Regions from separate parts of the Homo sapiens genome. Here region 1 is linked to region 2. The links are contacts of gene promoters, found by promoter capture Hi-C in human tissues and cell types (Jung and others, 2019). All regions are on one chromosome and are shown on one strand. The core of a region is centred on a gene start or on the middle of the fragment in contact, and the rest is flanking DNA. Distances in the headings are between cores, read along the strand shown. Region 1 overlaps LOC102724680 (a long non-coding RNA gene). Region 2 holds the start of TSPAN19 (tetraspanin 19).

The links. Contacts are between HindIII fragments. The study calls those that stand out against the background at their distance.
Region 1: a fragment that was not itself captured here is called in contact with the fragment with the promoter of TSPAN19 in region 2 in 1 of the 25 tissues and cell types used here (hippocampus).

What each region holds. Positions count from the first base shown.
Region 1 is chr12:84,988,732-84,993,505 of GRCh38, forward strand. LOC102724680 (a long non-coding RNA gene) reads left to right here. Exons shown (of 4, transcript XR_945154.3): 3 at 211-306; 4 at 3,839-3,926. Among named protein-coding and RNA genes, the nearest start is that of TSPAN19, 45 kb to the right of the region's middle. The HindIII fragment of the contact is 5,317 bases long and covers 1-4,639 here.
Region 2 is chr12:85,032,974-85,037,954 of GRCh38, forward strand. TSPAN19 (tetraspanin 19) reads right to left here and starts at 3,304. Exons shown (of 9, transcript NM_001100917.2): 1 at 3,231-3,304. LRRIQ1 (leucine rich repeats and IQ motif containing 1) reads left to right here and starts at 3,378. Exons shown (of 27, transcript NM_001079910.2): 1 at 3,378-3,434. The HindIII fragment of the contact is 3,053 bases long and covers 1,100-4,152 here.

The sequences.
Region 1 (4,774 bases), core at 731-3,230, 46 kb before region 2:
CCAAAAGTTATTCTCTTTTTCTATAAAAAGTGTTAGCTTGGCACATGGCCAGTGAGTTAGAGACTAAATTTCTTAACTTCCCTTGCAGCTAAGTGTGGCTCTAGACTCTAGCCAGGGGTATACAAGTGAAAGTGATCTTCGCAACCTCCACAAGGCTTAGTTAAAAGCAAACTTTGTGCTCTCCACTTCTTCCCTTTCCCTCTTTCACAGGCTATAATGTGGTAAAATCGTGGGGACTTAATTCCATCATATGGAGGTTACTGAATGTATCAGAGACAGCCTGCAGTTCATCACCACACAAATTAGGTAAGAGAGAAATAAGCATTTATCTTATTACTAATGTCTTTATTTTAGAGTCTCTTTTCCCCCATGCTTCTTTAGCTTACATTTTTAGCCTAGGAAGGATCCAGTGGAGGGAGAAGTTAGAGGCACCATAGTTAAAATAAATAAGTAAGGTTCATAAGAAATTGTAAAAATAAAGAATCACACTGTATATTGCATATATGAAAATATAATATGTATAGCAGTCTTTCCTGGCTCTGACACTTGAGAGAAATTTCTTTTGAGATCCTCATATCTTCAAGATATATTCAAGAACATTTTAAAATACATATATTGTATTTTATACAACTGCTTATTTTAACATTCCTCAATGCCTATCTATGAACTAATGTCAAACCTTATTTAATAAATATGGCTCTGTGAATCTAAATTTATATAGAGACAGCTCTATTAATTGGTAATAGGATTTTTACGTAATAAAATTGGGCAATATACAGGAGCAAGTTTAGTACTAGAGGAATGAGGATGCTGTTAAGGATAAAGACATTTTAAGTACATATTGTGAGTCCTGCACAATATTAGGTAACTTAACTATATTAGTTTATTTAATAGTGATAATGATGCTCAGAGATAAATTTTATTAAATTAGGGTTTTAGAAATGTAGAGTCAGAGAGGCCATGTATTTGTCCATTGTCTCACAGCTATTAAGTGGTTTATACAGAGTTCAAAGATGAAATATCCAATTCCTAATTCTCTGCACATTTCACTAGTCTCCTGATAACAAAATTCTTATTTGAATTCTAATTCAAATGTCTATCGTCTTAAAAATAAAATATCTACTAATCCAACTCAAATATCTAATAAATTATCAATAAGTAGTTTAAGGGACTATAATTAATGGAATACTAGCTTAAAAAAATTGCTTATTCCATTTCATGCCCGTGTCTTAGGGGAATTATAATTAAATGTGATCCTACTCCAAGTCTACATACTAAGTCTGATTAGATTCATTTGTAATTTGTCCTAGCCACTAGCCATTACTTTGTCATAATCAGGAGCTCCTCTTTTTACAAACTTCTCTAACTTGCAAACTTTCAAGGCCGGGCATGGTGGCTCACACCTGTAATCCTAGCAGTTTAGTAGGCCGAGGTGGGTGGATTGCCTGAGCTCAGGAGTTCTAGAACAGCCTGGGAAACACGGTGAAACCCAGTCTCTAAAAAACAAAAAGTTAGCTGGGCATGGTGGTGTGCGCCTGTAATCCCAGCCACTTGGGAGGCTGAGGCAGGACAATCAGTTGAATCCAGGAGGTGGAGGTTGCAGTGAGCTGAGATAGCGCCACTGCCCTCCAGCCTGGGCAACAAAGCAAGACTCTGTCTCAAAACAAAACAAAACAAACAAATAAAAAACTTTCATAGATTTGAAGCTACTTTTCAGAACAAAAGTATGTCACCTCTGCTTGTTCCCAATAAAAGGAACATTCACTAGTGCAACACTGCTATGTCATTATAAACGAATTTAGAAACAACCTTTCATCAGTTACTGTTTTCATAGAAAAGGGAGCTTTTGAACACTTTTGCTCCAGTGTTTCTCAAATCTTAGCCGTCAGTAAATCCCATGACTGGTGCTTAGCTGGTAACAACCTTCAGAGAATAGAAGTTGAAAAGGTTACTCTGTAGTCAGACTGCTTGTTCAAATCCCAGATCTTTTCACGTCCTAAAAGCAGGTTACAGTGCAAGTTACTTCATGCCTCTCTGCCTCAGTTTCCTTATCTGTGGAAAAGGTTGTTGTGAAGGGAAAATGAGATGATTTATGTAATTACAGTTAAAGAATATTTAAGATGCATATTGGTTAAAATATCCTAAACTTTTGCATTTTATTTACACATATGCAGTCATTATTCTACCCAGACTTTGTTTTTTTCTTAAGAAAAAGTATTAACTCACTCAAACTACACGGTTATTAACAAATTTAAAAATTTTAAACTACTGTAAAAAACAGTTTTGAAAACATAAGATACACTTCTTAAATCTTAAGAGGAGATTTTTAAATATGTAGAAAGCTGAAAGCTTATACATAAAATGATGTTTCTTTATTAAACTCTAGTACTATACTTACCTTTGTCACAGCTTCGGTTTTTTAAAGTAATAATTCAAAGAATTTTAAATCTACACATATGTATGCACAGAAACACACATATACAGCATGTGCATAAAGCTGGAGTTTTAGCTCAATGCTCAACTATATCCATTGGTACAATTCACTCCTATGGCAGGTATGAAAGGGACAGTGTTTCATTATTTATTTATTTCACTGCTTCCAAACAAAGATTCACACACCAAATTATGGAGGTAAATTATGAATGATAAGATAAAAGCTAAGGCCTGGCACACAATGGCTTATGCCTGTAATTCCAGCATTTTGGGAAGCCAAGGTGGGAGGATTGCTTGAAGTCAGGAGTTTGAGACCAGCCTGGGCAACAAAACAAGACCCTATTTCTTTAAAAAAAAAAAAAAAAATATATATATATATATATATATATATATATAGACAGGTATGATGGCACACACCTATAGTTCTAGCTACTCAGGAGACTGAGGTGGGAGAATTGCTTGAGCCCAGGAGGTTCAAGGTTGCAGTGAGCTGTGAGGCACCACTACACTCCAGCCTATGCAACAGAGAGATCCTGTCTCAAAAAAGATTAAAAAAAAAGATAAAAAGATAAACTCTATAAGAAGAAACTAAACATAGAGTAACTTAAAAGAGGTTTCTCTTTTAATTGGTGGTCTGGTCCCATGTTCCTGGGTTCGCATGCCATCTTCGCTATCAGAGACTTCACTATTAGAGACTCAGATATTTTCCATCTTATTGCTCTGTCACCCCTAAAATATGGTCCTCGTCCACATAGCAAAAGGTAGTTTACCACCACATCCACATTTCAGCCGTGGGAAGGGGAAGGGAGATAGGGTACAAACTTTTATTTTTATGGGCATGACCCTATAGTTGAAAATATAACTTCCAATTGTATTCATTGACCAGAAAGTGATTACATCCACCACCTTAGCAGAAAGAGAAGCTAGGAATTGTAGCCTAAGCTAGGTAGGCATAAGTCTAGCTAAGGCTTATGTAGATGAAATGGAGAAAAGGAATTGGAGACAGAAACATCAGTCTCTAACATAGTACAGCAAAGCCCAATTCTTTTGAATCCACAGATTCAAAACTTGCTGATGATCTTGTTTGCCAACCTATTTTACTTTTTCTGAAAAATTTAGGTTTATGTACAGAACAATAAATAATGACTCTGAGAAAAATATTTTTCAGTTTATTCTTGAATACATTGTTTAATGCCATCTGAGCTTTCATTTTGAATGGAGAGTAAAGCATAAATAAAGCTCAGTTTAGGGGTTCAGCCTGGGAAAGACCCCCAGGCAGGGGAAGCAAAATGTTACTGTGGACTTAAGGAAAAGGAAGTTGGAAATAATTTTCAATTTTCAGTGTTAAAAAAGAGTCTACGAAGAATATGCTGGGCATGACATCTTGCTTTCTTTTCTCTACTAGGAGCAACGTAAGAAGAGAAAAAGAAAAAGGAATTACAGATTAAAAAATGCAAGAGAATATAAACAAATAAAAATATGTTCAACTGGAATTTGTATTGGGATTGTATTAAATGGATGAACTAATTTGTGAAGAAATGATATCATTCCATCCAAGAGCATGGAACTCCTATTTTTCCTATTGTCTTCTATGTTTCTTTTTAAAAAGTCTTAAGTTTTCTCTGTAGAGTTTTTTGCATTCTGGATGATTTTAATTGAAACATACTGTATAGATATTGTTACTATGATAAGTGGTGCCTCTTATTAGATTTTTTAATTCATTATGATTGGTAAAGCAAATAGGAAAGATTTTGAGCATAGAAAACTGCCTCAATTACCTCATTACTTCAAAAAGTATTGCCATTGGTTCTATTGCTTTTTAAAAAAATACATGATGATATCTTCTGCACATTATGAAATTTTATCTCAACACTTTCAATCACCGCATCTCTGTTTGACACTGATGAACATTTCCAAAGTGAAATATTTTGCTCTCTTTATTTTTCTCCTTTTGCTCTTTGGGGCCTCTTTACTTTCTAAACTTGTCACTTCTTGGTTTATCTTCCAAACCTCTTGGCTTTTCTTTTGTGTAGTATACTTTAGCTTCATTCTGGGAGAGTTTTTCATTCTGAACTTTTCGATTCACTAGTTTATTCTCCATCAGTATGTATGCTAATTTTTCTTCCATTGACTTTTTTTCCCAAACACTTATTTTTCATACTTTATATTTTCACTTGGAATTTTGGGGGAATATTTTGTTCTAGTTTCAAATTGATCCTATATTTTTTGTCTCCTTAAGTATATTTATCAGGCTTATTTTAAATTCTTGATTTATATGTTATAATAATGCTACCTTAGATGGCATATGCTGCTCAATTTTTCTTTCCTTTTTCCACTCTAG
Region 2 (4,981 bases), core at 2,054-4,553:
CTAATTGCTTCTTGTTATTGTTTTTATATTCTAAGTTCCAAGAGATGGGAACACACAAATGAACAAGTAAGAGAATGTCAAGGAGTCAAATATTAAAACCTGAATTATGTGTTGAGGTGGGGACAGGAAATAAAGGAAACAGGAAAGTTTCATAGAGAAGATGATTTTGAGATGACTCTTGAAGGAAGATTAAGAAGGTCCTAGTTAGATAAAAATGGGAGAGAGATAGGAAATATTCAAGACAGAGGGAACACTATGTTCAGAAGCTTTATAATGAGGTGTAAGGAGGCATGGATCAGAGTGGCAAGAGATGAAAGATAAGCTAAAGAAGTAGACTCAGTAAAGATTGTGACAAATCTTATATGCTTTACTAAAGATTTTTTTTTTCCTGAAGGTAATAGGGAGTCGTAATTCTGGCCTCAATGTGGAAGCCAAATTAGAAAAGACACTTAAGATAGGGGGATAATTTATAAATGGCTGTGGGAATGGAAACAGTATCACAATATGAGAGATGTAGTAGGAAGTAGAATTGCCAGCATTGGGATAACCAAAGAATCAAAGATGGAATGTAGTCTGTAGAAATGATGTAATTAAACTTTGAACATTATCTCATATTCTACATTGTCTCATTTAAATTGATTCCCTTTATCGTCGATATTTTGCAAATGCTATTATCCCCAATATCATCAATGAGGAGAGAAAGACTCAGCAAGGCAAAATTACTTGCCAAAGGTCACTTAGTTAATAAATGGCAGAGATGAGATTTAACTCCATTGATATAAACCACCCTCTCAATAACTTTCCCAAGCCCCAGTATCATCATCTGTAAATGCAGATTGTAATAGTACATGCCTCAAAGAGATGTTGTGAAAATTAGATGAGATTATGTTTGTAAAGCTCTTAGCCCAGTGCCTGGCTAGATGTTAGTTATCTCGTTATATCATAAGGCTAGAATCTCGTTATATCATATCTCAGTATAGAAATATTAAGATTATACAAGAGTCATGCATGTGAGAATGGGGAATGGGATGGAAACTGTGGGAAAGTCATAAATTCTCATTTTTCTGTGAAGTGGTTGGTCATGACAGCAGCTGGGAGGGAGCACAAAGAGAGTTAGAGAATCTGAAGGCTTGAGACACACTTTAAGTGGAACAAGAGAATGAGAGGCCTAAGAATACAATATGTGGTACTATGAGCTACATAGTAAATTACTTTTACTCAATAATTACGGTGCCTCAAGAAAATGAAACAAAGAAATACCTGCTCTGCAACTATTTTGAACACAACAATGATATTATGGGATATTTAAATTATATCACTGCCATATGAAGAATAAAGCAGTTGTTGAAAAATGCTCTTAAACTAAAATGATTTCACTACAACACATTTTCAAAGGAATATTAGTCTTGTCAGATAACAAAGAACAAACAGTTATCTCTCATTCTTTCATTCTCTCAATAAATATTTATTATGTACTCTCTAAAGGAAATATGCATTGTTAAGCCAATATGCTATAAATCAACCACACCTACAAATTGTTTTTAAAATTTAAATGAAATGAAGTTAACATGTTCAAAAGAAACAAAAGTCTACTCAGGTTAAAGAGTCATAGGCAAACCAACATACTCAATCTGAAGTTACCGTTTCTAGGAATAATGCAATTAAAATGGACTTCTGCTAAATACTACATGGTTGATAAACAACAGTGTCAAGTTAAATTTACTTATAATCTACAAATGTATTAGATAACTGCTGCCTTTTATTTTTGATTAGTTATATTCTAGCGAAATTATGACTAATTGATAAAGTTGTCCTTTCTTCCAAAGTAAAAAATCGCATGACAATATAGGAGATCTATCACCATGAATTAATTTATCTTCAGAAAATCTTTCACTGTTTTTCTTTTTTGCTGTCAATATTTGACAAAGTAAGCTTTGAGAAGGAAAGGAACTAAGGCATTATTTCCAAAATTATTTGATTATGAAAACTAGTTATTCAAAATTAATTTTGAAATTATTAAAGGATTTATAATTTTTAGAAGTCTGGATAGTTTCACAATCAAAAATAAAACTAATCTTAAGATTCTTATGTGAACTTCAACACAATATGAAAGTCTATTTTAAATGAACAGTTTGAGGTTCGAACACAGTAGCTCATACCTATAATCCCAGTGCTTTGGGAGGCCAAGGCGGGAGGATTACTTGAGTACAAGAGTTGGAGGCTACAGTGAGCAATAATTGTACCACTGCACTCCAGCCTGGGCAACAGAGGGAGACCCTGTCTCTAAAAAAACAATAAAAAATAGATAATTTCAATAGTCTATAAATCAGCAATAAAACCAAACTTAAAAAAAAGAACAAATTCCATTTGAGCATGGACTTTGATAATGAAAATACTCTGAATTTAATTAGACCTGAAACCAAGTGTAGTTTATTTTTTAAAATCATCTTTCCTGAAAAGGAAACTAACATGTGTGCTTTTAATATGAGAAATCTATTAACGTCTCACTTTATATTATTAGTTCTTATGTTGATGCAATTCAAGTTTATTGTTACCAGGAAATGTAGTCTATTTTTTTTCCAGAGGCTCAGTGAAATATTTGCTTTTAGCTTATTTTATAGCAGATACCTTTTACAATTATGGCTACTTCCTTTTAGAATTTAATGCCTTATTTGCAAACTTTAAAAGAAAATTAAAGTAAAAAATATGTTATTAATTAAAATATTATTTTGTACCCTATGTATTTGCTCCACAAAAAACTTTAATAAATTAAGTTAAAATTAAATAGCATGACATAAACTTAGAAATTAAGGTTTTATATTGAAATACTGTGTGACAATATTTTTACAGTAAAATAACTCCAGAAAATAATTTTTCAAATTTCTCACCCACATCCCTTCAGTTAGAGGTTTTTGATGGGCATTGATTGATGATTTTTTTCTTTTTTCCTTTTTCTTTTCTTTTCTTTTTTAAAAAACTGTTGTCATGGAAGGCAAACAACTTATTGACTTCTCTTCCATACTTCTATGTCCCACAAATCACTGTTCAGGATTAAGGGTTTGTGGAATGAACACCTTATACATGGGCAAATCACCAGATGGAAATATAAATATATGTAGCTCAGAAACAATTTAAAAAATTTAAAAGTGAGATTACATCTACTTGGGTAATTATAACAAAATTTCATTTTATTAAGTATTTTCCAAAGTTACTTAAATATTAAAATCTACCTGTAAAAAACCGTAAGCTCCTCATCCAGTCCCTGAAATGCTGCGTTCGTTTCAATTTAGAATCGAGATTGTTTGTCCTTCTAGAGCACCTGTAGGGAAAAACCGGTGTCTCTTCCTTGTGATTGGCTGTTGCCATGGATACGCTTTGTGTAGCGGCTATGGGCGCTGTCTTACAACAAAGCCAAGGAATCTCGCTGCTGAGGGGTGAGCCGGGGTCTTAAGACTGGGATTCCCGTTGAGGGAGGTGAACAGCTGTGGGAGCTCAGGCCGAGCCGGGACTCTCTCTGCCTGGCCAGACTTCCAGCAAAGGGAGAGACCGCGGGTCAGGGGATGGCTGTGCGACTCTGCGAAGCTCGAGGCTCCCTTCCACCCTGGAGATTTCGAGAACTCATTCAAAACTTAAAGAGATGTCTTGGCTATGTAGGGATCATTCGATGGTTACTCACTCACCGCTCCCCACAAACCAATTGACGTTATTTTCCTTCCTTCCTTCCCTTCTTGTCGCCCTCCTTTCCACCCTTTCTTTTTCTGTCTCTCTTTCTTTCTTTTTTTTTTGGTAATATATAATTTATATGAACCTTATAAAGTAGATTTCTCTCCCCTTTCTTTACAGGGGTTGAAGGGGGAGTTCCTTAAGCTTTTCTACTTTTGACAGCTTTAGTGAACTCCAAGTGATTCGTTATCAACTTAGAGCACTTTAATGTAGCCCATTTACAGTGAGACCCATCCATGACTGCACGTCATATACAGTAACCACTAACTGCAGGTGGCTACTGAGGACTTGAAATGCAGCTAATCCTAACTGAGATGTGCTGCAGGTGTAAAACACACAACAGATTTCTAAGAATTACTGTCCAAAGAAAGAATATAAACTCTTTGCAATGATATTAATAATTAATTTTGTTATTACACGTTGAAATATTTTGGATATATTGGGTTAAATAAAATATATTATAAAAATTAATTGCACTTCTCTTTTGTTTTTAAAAAGTTGCTAATAGAAAATTTAAACTTGCGTAAGTGCTCAAATATGTAATTGGACAGGGGTGATCTAATGAGCCAGTAGATGAACAGAGAAAGTCATGTAAAGGAAATGACTCTTACCTCCACCATACTCTCCTGCCTCTCTTTCTATATAAAGTTTAGTATACCCGTGCATTTTGCTTTGTAGGCATAAAAAAAAAATCTAGCTTTCCTTCTAATAAAGCTTTTTAAATGCACTTTGAGTTCCATTGCAGGATAATATTTTGCCCTGGTTCTGTCTGGAGTTCCATTTCACTTTGTTTTTCTTTTCTTTTCTTTCTTTTCCTTTTTTTATTTTATTTTTTATTTTTGAGTGAGTGAGTGAGGGTGGAAGTTATGGGTAGAACTGATTTTGAGATGATTGAGTAGAGTGAAAGGAGGAATTAACGAAAGGGAAAGAGGATGGAAAGAAGGAATGAAGAAAAGAACAAGAAGACAGGTGGAAAGGTCAGGCCCTTGAGTAAAGAAAGAAAGGTTTAAACTAGTGTCATGAAAAATAAAATGATAGCTGACTAGTACGTTTTCAAACCTTTTTTGGGACTAAGACCAACAGTGAAAAATAAAAAACAGAACATTAACAACAACACATATTACATTGCAACTCATGCATACATACCTACATTTATATGTATTAATAACTGAAACAAAAATTTTATAAACAATTCTGATCTTTATTATATATAGTAAAATTATATAAACATATAAATCAATAAGAGTATTAGCGTACA